Linked DNA regions of Homo sapiens: region 2 is linked to region 1. The links are contacts of gene promoters, found by promoter capture Hi-C in human tissues and cell types (Jung and others, 2019). All regions are on one chromosome and are shown on one strand. Each heading gives the region's core, a stretch centred on a gene start or on the middle of the fragment in contact. The rest is flanking DNA. Distances are from core to core; before and after follow the strand shown. Region 1 holds the start of DCDC1 (doublecortin domain containing 1). Region 2 overlaps DNAJC24 (DnaJ heat shock protein family (Hsp40) member C24).

The links. The method cuts DNA at HindIII sites, captures the fragments that hold promoters and counts their contacts. A contact is called where the count stands out against the background at its distance.
Region 2: a fragment that was not itself captured here is called in contact with the fragment with the promoter of DCDC1 in region 1 in 1 of the 25 tissues and cell types used here (adrenal gland).

The regions. Positions count from the first base shown.
Region 1 is chr11:31,366,461-31,370,988 of GRCh38, forward strand. It overlaps DCDC1 (doublecortin domain containing 1), which reads right to left and starts at 3,279. Exons shown (of 39, transcript NM_001387274.1): 1 at 3,237-3,279. DNAJC24 (DnaJ heat shock protein family (Hsp40) member C24) reads left to right here and starts at 3,400. Exons shown (of 5, transcript NM_181706.5): 1 at 3,400-3,452; 2 at 4,256-4,399. The coding sequence starts at 4,289. RefSeq lists an enhancer at 3,213-3,692. The HindIII fragment of the contact is 7,317 bases long and covers 2,848-4,528 here.
Region 2 is chr11:31,406,205-31,410,732 of GRCh38, forward strand. All of the region lies in intron 2 of DNAJC24 (DnaJ heat shock protein family (Hsp40) member C24), which reads left to right. Among named protein-coding and RNA genes, the nearest start is that of DNAJC24, 39 kb to the left of the region's middle. The HindIII fragment of the contact is 5,144 bases long and covers 1-4,528 here.

The sequences.
Region 1 (4,528 bases), core at 2,029-4,528:
ATATACAAAGGACTTGCTATGAAAGTTGAGGGGCGGCAGTAAGTTCTAAGGACCAGGCCATCATAAAAGGCTTGATGGAAGAGATAGGCCTTAAAGCAGGGATTACTCTGATAGGAGGAAGAAAAGAATTAGGGTGTTATAAGTAAGGAGAAGCATTTGAACACAATTATTGATGAAATGCTGTTACCAAAACACCAGGAGTTCCATCTATGTCTTGCTGCTTACCACCCAAAAAGTCAATCACTGAGACAATGATTATTGTCAAAGAAGAAGGCTTTAATCAGATGCTGCAGCCAAGGAGATGGGACATCAGTGTCAAATTCACCTTCCTCACTGACTAAAATTAGGGGTTTATATAACAGGGAAGAAATGTTAACTACGTATGAGAAAACAGGAACTAAGGAAGGGTAAGGAAACAATAACGAAGAATGAGGGGTCTGGCATATCACTGTCTAGATGCAGTAATCTGGTGAGTTTCAGCTCTTTGATACTTGTTGAGAGGTCTGGGCATCCTTTCTTGAGGAAGGAACTGAGATAAAGATCAACAAAATGTGGCTGGGCGCAGTGGCGCATGCCTGTAATCTCAGCACTTTGGGAGGCTGAGGCAGGCAGATTGCTTGAGCTCAAGAGTTCCAGACCAGCCTGGCCAACATGGTGAAACTCCATCTCTACAAAAAAAAATACAAACATTAGCCAGGCATAGTGGCATGCACCTGTGGTCCCAACTACTTGGGAATCTGAGGTGGGCAGATGACTTGAGCCTGGGAGGTAGAGGCTGCAGTGAGCTGAGATCATGCCACTGCACTCCAGACTGGACACCAGGGCAAGACTCTGTCTCAAACAAGCAAACAAAAAGATAAAACAAATGCAAGTTTCAAGCTTTCAGAAAAGAAGTGTCCATTTCTATGTTTATTAATTTAAAAAACCCCAATAAACAAAACTAAACAAACAAACAAAACCCTGTCTATGGGACTGTTGGGTTGATTTCAGTACCATGAAAAGATCCAATTGTTTAAATGTTTAATGTATGGAGATAATAGGGGAGGTTGGAAAAGTAAGGATCATATTGAAGAGGTAACTTGAATGCTAGGTTAAGGAGTTAGGACTTTATTCTCTAGACCTGCCCTGCTGGATACAGTAGCCACTAGTCACATGTGGCTACTGAGCATTTGAAATGTGCTAGTTCAAATTGAGGTGTGTTCGGGCACAATACATACCAGCTTTTGAAGACTTAGTAGGAGAAAAGAATGTAAAGTATCGCCTTAATAATTTTTAGATTAATTAATTTTGTAGCTTGCACTTACGGCTTACATTATATTTCTATTGGAAAGTACTGCTCTATAAAATGAAAAATGAAGGAAGCTTAATGATCAGAAATTTATGTAAAAATTGTTTTAAGAAGTTTATTTTGGTATAAGCAGAGTGTAAGACAACTGTTCTCATTCAGTAAGCCAATGGCAAGTAAAGAAAAAAACAAGGTTCTAGTGAAGAAATGGGACTGCTATAATTTAAAAGATATTTAAGAGACAGAACAGCTAAATGGAAAGTGTACATTTTGTCTGATTCTGAGTCAAGCAAACCAACCAGAAAAAGACATTTTCAATTAACCGTGGAAATGTAAGTAAGGTCTAGATATTATGTGACAGTCCAATAATGACATTATGGAGATAAAAGAAAAAGTTGGTACATTTTAGGGATGCAAACTAAAGTATGTAGAGATGAAATGACAAAATATTTGGTATTGCTGGGGAAAAAAACTATTTCTTACTTTCCAAACCCCAATAAATAAATAAGGTAACACAATAACCTAATAAATAGTAAATCAAAATAAAATGCTTTTGCTGTAAAAAACAAAAAACCTGGAGTACCGGAGCATATCTACCTACACAAGGAAGAACCAAGCTGTGGACAGAAGGGAGTTTGAGGGCTAGAGATGTTCAAGGTGGCATCATTCTGACAGTACTGTTTAGAAAAGCATTCACCACACTACTTAATTCCATTGCTTTAGGTATTTTCATGAGGCCACACAAGAAAGTATGATGCAGCCAGGACTAAAACCAGATGCTCTTTGTATCTGCCTTTAAACATGACAAAACCCTGTGGAGAACCTAATCTATGCTTTCATCTTTAGATTTTTAAACTTGCTTGTTTCATTCAGTTATTCTTTATAGTTCATAACATCATTAAATAACTGATCATATTAGATTATTTTATTTATTCTGCTTAAGTTTATCTTGACTGCTTCTCAAACTCAGATTGGTAGAAGTTTAAAAAAGAAGGAAAGCAAAATCAAAGCAGTAACAACAAAACCATTTTAACATCTCCAAGTGAAATTTATGTCATGCTGGCCAAAAATAAGATGTAGTTTTCATCTCCAGGTACAATGCTAGGAAGAGGTGTTAATGTAAAGTAAGCAGCACAAAGAAGTAATAAAAGGAAACACAGGAATCAAGAAAGGGAGAAGAAAGAAAGGTGAGAAAAACACCACCACCACCACCACCACCACCACCAGCAACAATAACAAACCCCAACAGTGCCCATATGCAGTGCCCCCTAACTGCTTCGAAGAAGAACAGTTCATTCTGCTTTTTTCTGTAAGCTTGAAAGATAGCATAGCTGCCCTGGGAATGTGTAGACTTGCTGAGTCCTTGTTCTGCCCCTACCCAACTAGCTGTTTGGCCTTGATCCTTGATTTCTTTCCTCATCTATAAAGTGGGAATAATGGCACCTGCCTTACTTGTCTCACTGGGTTGAAATGAAAGCGAAGTGAAATAGCAAATGTGAAAGAATTTTGGAACGTTTTTATGTTGTAAGTTGGTTGCTAAGGTCTAAAAGAAATATTAATAATTACGTCGAATATCTTCTGCAGAAAAAATTAAACCGACCCCATCCCCCGCACATCTAGCCCTACCTGGCATAGGTTTTAGTTCTTTTAATTTTCGAATTAGAACATTGTAAAGGAACTGTAGGGACGAGAGTGGCATCAGGTCTCCTCATCCTTCTCACATCCTTGCCCCCGCACCCCTCTCTCACCCCAGAGTTCAAGCACCAACCGAAAAGATTGAGAGTAGCTCAGGGTACGGTAAACGGAGGAAGCTTTGAAAAAGGCGGGGAAAGCCTGGGATGGCGAGGGGGTGCTCGCTGAGGAGGAGGAGAGAAGCGACAGTCGCGGGGCCCGGAAAAGAGAGACTTAGAGCGAAGCCAAAGGCGCCTTTCTTCACAGTTTGGGAACTTACTGGTAGTAAACGCCACTCCATAGAAGCGGTGACCGGTTACCATAGAGACCGCGTCGGGGTGGGCGGAGCGTCGCTTCTGAGCTGTGCCACGGCCACATCAGCTCGGCCAGAAACGCGAACACGTCGGAACAGTGACTTCCGGCGGAAGAAGAAGCCGGTCCGGAGTTCTGGCCGACAGCAGGCGAGGAGTGGGTAGCAGCGCCTATGTGAAGTTAGGTAGGTCTGATGTCGTATAAAGCGCGGAGAGGGTGCCCGCCAATGGCTGGGTGGGTAAAGCCGACTGTGAATGGAGAAGATTCCCAAGTCCCGAGCTTGAGGAGGCCCCGGCTGTTTCGTTAAGTGTATATAGCTGTGGGAAGAGGTTGCCTGATTTCTGGGGCTCCTGGTAGGGTCTCTCTTCTGGAGCGTGGAAGACTGGGGCATCCTCGCGTAGAGAGTTTCACTCTGTCTTTGCGAGGTCTCAGCGCCTCTCCAATAACAGGGGACTCTTGTTCTCTACCAGCTGGTGCTGACGTTATTTCCCATATCATGCTCTCCAGACAATCTGGAGGAAAAGCAAACGAGAAACTTTCAGAAGGAATGCCCCCAAATTTATTTTAATTCTTTGATGTTCTGTTTTGCTTTTTTTTTATTCGTTCATTTTGTAAATATTCATTAAGCTCCTCCAGCGTGTTTAGTGGGTGCTTACTTGTGTGCCAGTTTTATCATAAGACTAGCAGAAATACCTTCTTAGAGGTTCATACACCACCTGGTTCATTATAAAATTCTTTTTTTTAATGCTGTTCATTAATTAAAGTATAAATATATATCGTGAAATACCTAACACGTTTTCCATACTTGTCGGTACACTTATACCTGGAATTCTTGGGGCATTTTAAATGAAAATCTGTGCTTCCTCAGGTTTGCATTATAATCATGATTTACTCGACTAAATACTAAAGAATTTACAAGGGCAGTACTTAATTTTTTCTTAGATACATGGCAAACTGTGATGAATTGTCATTAATATTTCTATTCAGCTAATCTGAGAAGGCCCACTTCTGGTTCCATGGATGATGGCGGTTGAGCAGATGCCAAAAAAGGATTGGTACAGCATCCTGGGAGCAGACCCATCTGCAAATATATCAGACCTAAAACAAAAATATCAAAAACTCATATTAATGGTAAGTCTTTTCTTTCAGATTTTAAATCATGAGGGGAAAAAAATCAATTTTTATATGAAACCACAAATTTAGGTTTCCAGAAAATAGGATACCAGTGGCAGGAATCCAGGTATTAATTTGATTTAATTG
Region 2 (4,528 bases), core at 756-3,255, 38 kb after region 1:
TGAAGCATTTTCATATCATTTTTTCATAGTTTCAATGTAATAGAATGACATAGTAAATACTTGTTCACTAGGAAAGAGTATGAGAGAAAAGGCACTTAAGTGCAGTACCTCAGACTAAACCTAAAATTTATCTCTCCTCCTGTATGTTGCTGACTAAAATCAGTAAGTTTCATATTTTGTACTTTTGGGGAAAATATTAAACACACAGCTTAAATATACAAATATTTATGAAGGATACTTGTGCGAAGAGGCACTGTGCTGATCTTTGCACAGATATGGATATAGTTAAAATACGGTGTTTATATATTCAGTGTTTAATACTTGTAATAGATAAAGCTTGAATGGTAGGTTGTGGTTCTTATATTGTAGGACTTTACTTTTAAGGATAAAGAGTTTCACTGTAATTCACTATGCATTAGTTGGCCCTTTAAAATTTATGAGCTGGGGAATGACATGGTCAGAGTTATGTTGAGTGACTTTGAAGCAGGTAAGATGGATTGGAAAGCTGTTAGAAGATGATTGCTGGGGACTAGTTAGGAGCTAATGTTGGTCTGTACTAGGTTTGGTATTGGGAATAGAAAGGAAATTATGTAGGTATAATCTATAGATTTGGCAGTTCATGGGAGGAGGGAAAGAGGGGTTACCCTAATATTGATAGTCTGGATTATTAGAAAAATTTTTCCCCTCTCATCCATTCATTTAGCATTTATTGAGCGTGGAGTTATTTTTTAACAGAGCAAGGAATTCAACAGGAGGATAAACAAATTTTAGAGTCTGGATAATATATTGGATATCAAACATATTAAACTTGTGCTGACAAGGTAGCTTCTAGAAAGTATTTCAAAATTTGGTTCTAGAATTCAAGAAAATTTGAAGCTAGAGACAGAGAGCTAGCATCCTATTGATGGTACTAAAACTCATCTATTAATACATAGGGAAAACCAAAGTGCTATGTCCTCAAGTGCCACATTGATAAATCAAGTAATATTAGCCTATTTGGGGATTTCTGTGTAATCAGATTTGCCCAGAGTCCTTTTCATGGTTTATTGTTACTTCTTATGTATAGTTTATATTTTATGTATCAAAACAGCACAATCACAAGTGTGTAGTTAAGGATTAATATATGTAGCCACTTTACCATAAAACTCTTACGTGTTTACTGTAAAGAAATATCATTTCATTTCAACTTTATATGTTGTGTAGCCAATAGAAAATATCATTTGGAGCTAATGAATATATAATATTCACAAGGTGGATGGATTACTTGAGTCTTGGAGTTGGAGACCAGCCTGGGCAATATGGAAACCTCATCTCTACAGAAAATACAAAAATTAGCCAGGTGCGGTGGTATATGCCTGTGGTTCCAGCTACTTGGGAGGCTGAGGCGGGAGGATCGCTTGAGCCTGGGAGGCAGAGGTTGCAGTGAGCCAGGATCACTCCATTACACTCCAGCCCAGATGACAGAGAGAGATCCCATCTCAAAAAAAAAAAAAAAAAAAAAAATATATATATATATATATAAAATTTTTCACTAAAATCTTTTAGAAGTTGCTAGAATTTTCACACTGCATTGTATGATGCTATTTTCATAATTTTACATGCTTCATTTCTTAGTTGAAAAACTTGTTTCTGTGCTAAATTTATCAGTGGGTATCATCATTAGTGTTAAGTAGGTGAAGCCTGATACAAATTATGCCCCTCTCTTAAAAAAAAAAAAATAAACAGGTTAAAATACCACTGGCATATTGTTCACATTTCATCAGCATCTTCATCTGTGACATAAGATGGTATCAATACAAACAGTGGAATGAAGAAGTTGACATTTATGATTAGTGAACGAAAGGTATCAAATATAAAAAAAATTCCGACTTGAAACACATTGCAATTTTCATTGTGGTGTTACAGGTTATTGGATTTTTTCCCCCTCTTTTTGGTGTACATACTTGGAAGGACGCATCTGTCACAGGAAAATTTTTGTGAAGCACTCATCTTCTGACTTGCCCATGAATTCCTTGTTTTAAGCAGTCAAGGCAAACAGTGTGCTTCTCAAATTTTAGCACGCGTAACAGTTGCTTGGAGAGCTTGGTGAAACAGAGATTCTGGAGTCCTCCCTCTGAAGATTTGAGGTGAGTCCCAAGAATTGATATTTGTAACAAGCTCTCAGATGATGCTGATGCTGCAGTTCTGAGGACCACATTTTGAGTAGCACTGAGGTGACACATTGTGACAGTCACTCTGGAATTAGTAATTTAGAAAGCACTTAGACTTAATATGTAGAGAGACTTTAAAATCAAAATAAAATATTTCATACTGGACAGCCCATTGCCATAAAATCTCAGCTGATGAGAATTAAGATTTCATAACTGAAGTGTTACTTATCCATGAAATAGTCATTTAGAAAACAGATAACACATACCAATCCTGATGAAATATTATATCATTTCCTGTATATCTTTTGTAGTACCATGAATGATCCTTTATTTTTGTATCAAGAAAGTTTCTTAATCTATTTTTGTGTTAGTTTTTCTTATTCTCAATGAATGATATGGTAATTTAAAGAAGAATTTAAGTTTATGTAATTGAAAATTTTCCCCAAAATTTGAGGAAATTACTTAGATCATACAGTTATAGGTGTGAAGTCATTTCAGAGTAATAAAATAGCACTTTACTGAAATTTTGGAAATAGATGTCTTTGTATAATAAAGAATCACACAGATACTATCACTCTCAGTATTTCTAATATTGTGACATATTTATGGTATTTTAATTTTGGATGCATTTTGGCTTTCTACTCAACAATGCTTAGCCTTTTAAAATGTTTTGAAGTTATTAGAGTTGGCAAATGTGCTTGAAAGTAATAAAACAATTTCCATAAACTAGTGTGTAATTCAAGCTTTTCACTAATTCATGTTAGTTTTTCCATTAATTTTTTGGTTTTCTGTTGTACTTGTTTTTCTATTAATGGAAGAAATTCCTTATTTTTCCTTTATGGCTTAGAAAGATTTGCTAAATTCCTTTTTAAAAATTTAGACATGTCTGAAGATGTTTTTCTGTTGATATTGTCAACATAAAATGAAAAATGCACAGATCTTAAGTGTTAAGTTTGGTGAGTTTGATATCATGTAAATACCACCCCAAATAAGATATAGCACATTTCTGTGCCTCCAGCAAGTTCCCTCATGCCCCTCTTTCTTAATTTCCACTACCTGTTCTCACCTGGAAACCAACTTTTTGGTTTCTGTCGCCACAGATTAAATGTACCTAAATTGGGATTTCATGTTCATGTAATCATACAGTATGTACTTTTTGTTCTTGCTTCTTTTACTTAACATATATTTTAGATACTCATTTGTGTTATTGAGTGTGTCATAATTTGTTCTTTTTTAATTGTTGAGGAATATTTCTCTTCTATGGATTTAAATAAAATGTATTTACCTATTCTGCAGTTGATAGACATTTATGGTTCCAGTGTTTTAGTAAGACTGTTATGAATAAGACTGTTAATCTATTCTTCTATGAATCTTTTCGTGGATGTGTGATTTTCATTTTTATTGATCATGGAGTAAATGTATATGTAACTTTATAAGCAATTGCCAAATTGTTTCCTGTCAGCAGTATATGAGAATTCTGGTTATTTCATATCTTATCAACACTTGGTGTTATCAGCATTTTTTTTTCTTTTTCTTTTTTTTTTTTTTGAGACAGAGGCTTGCTGTGTCATTTAGGCTGGAGTGCAGTGGCATCATCTCCGCTCACTGCAACCTCTACCTCCCCAGTTTAAGCAATTCTTGTGCCTCGCCTCCTGGGTAGCTGGGACTACTGGTGCGTGCCACCACACCTGGCTAATTTTTGTATTTTTAGTAAAACTGGGTTTCACCATGGTGGTCAGGCTAGTCTCAAACTCCTGACCTCAGGTGATCTGCCCACCTTGGCCTCCCAAAGTGCTGGGATTACAGGCATGAGCCACCACCACACCCAGCCAGTCATTTTTATTTTAGCCATTCTTTTAGATATGTAGTAATATCTCATTGTGATTTTAATTTGCATTTTCCTAATAACTAATAAAAAGTTTATTTCCTAATAACTAATAAAAAAGTTCATGTGCACACTGTCTGTTCATCAGTTTTCTTTGAAAAAGTATCTGTTCAATTTTATTCATCTGGTTTTTAATTAGTTTTGTCTTTTTATCATTGATTTATAGGTTTTATTCATGTATTCTGATACAAGTCCTTTGTTAGAAATATATGCAGCCAGTATTTTCTCTCAGTCTGTGGCTTGTTTATTCATTTCCTTAGTGGTATCTTTGATGAGCAGAAGGTTTTAAAATTTGATGAAGTTCAGTTTATCAGTTTTGTGTTACACAGTTTATGCTTTTTATTTTCTGTCAAAGCACTGTGTGCCTACCCTAAGAGGCAAAGATATTCTCTTGTTGCCTTTATGGATTACTTTTATGTGTATGATTCATTCTGAATTAAGTTTGGTTTATGGAATTAGAAGGATTGAGGTTATTTTTTCTCCCACAGGGATA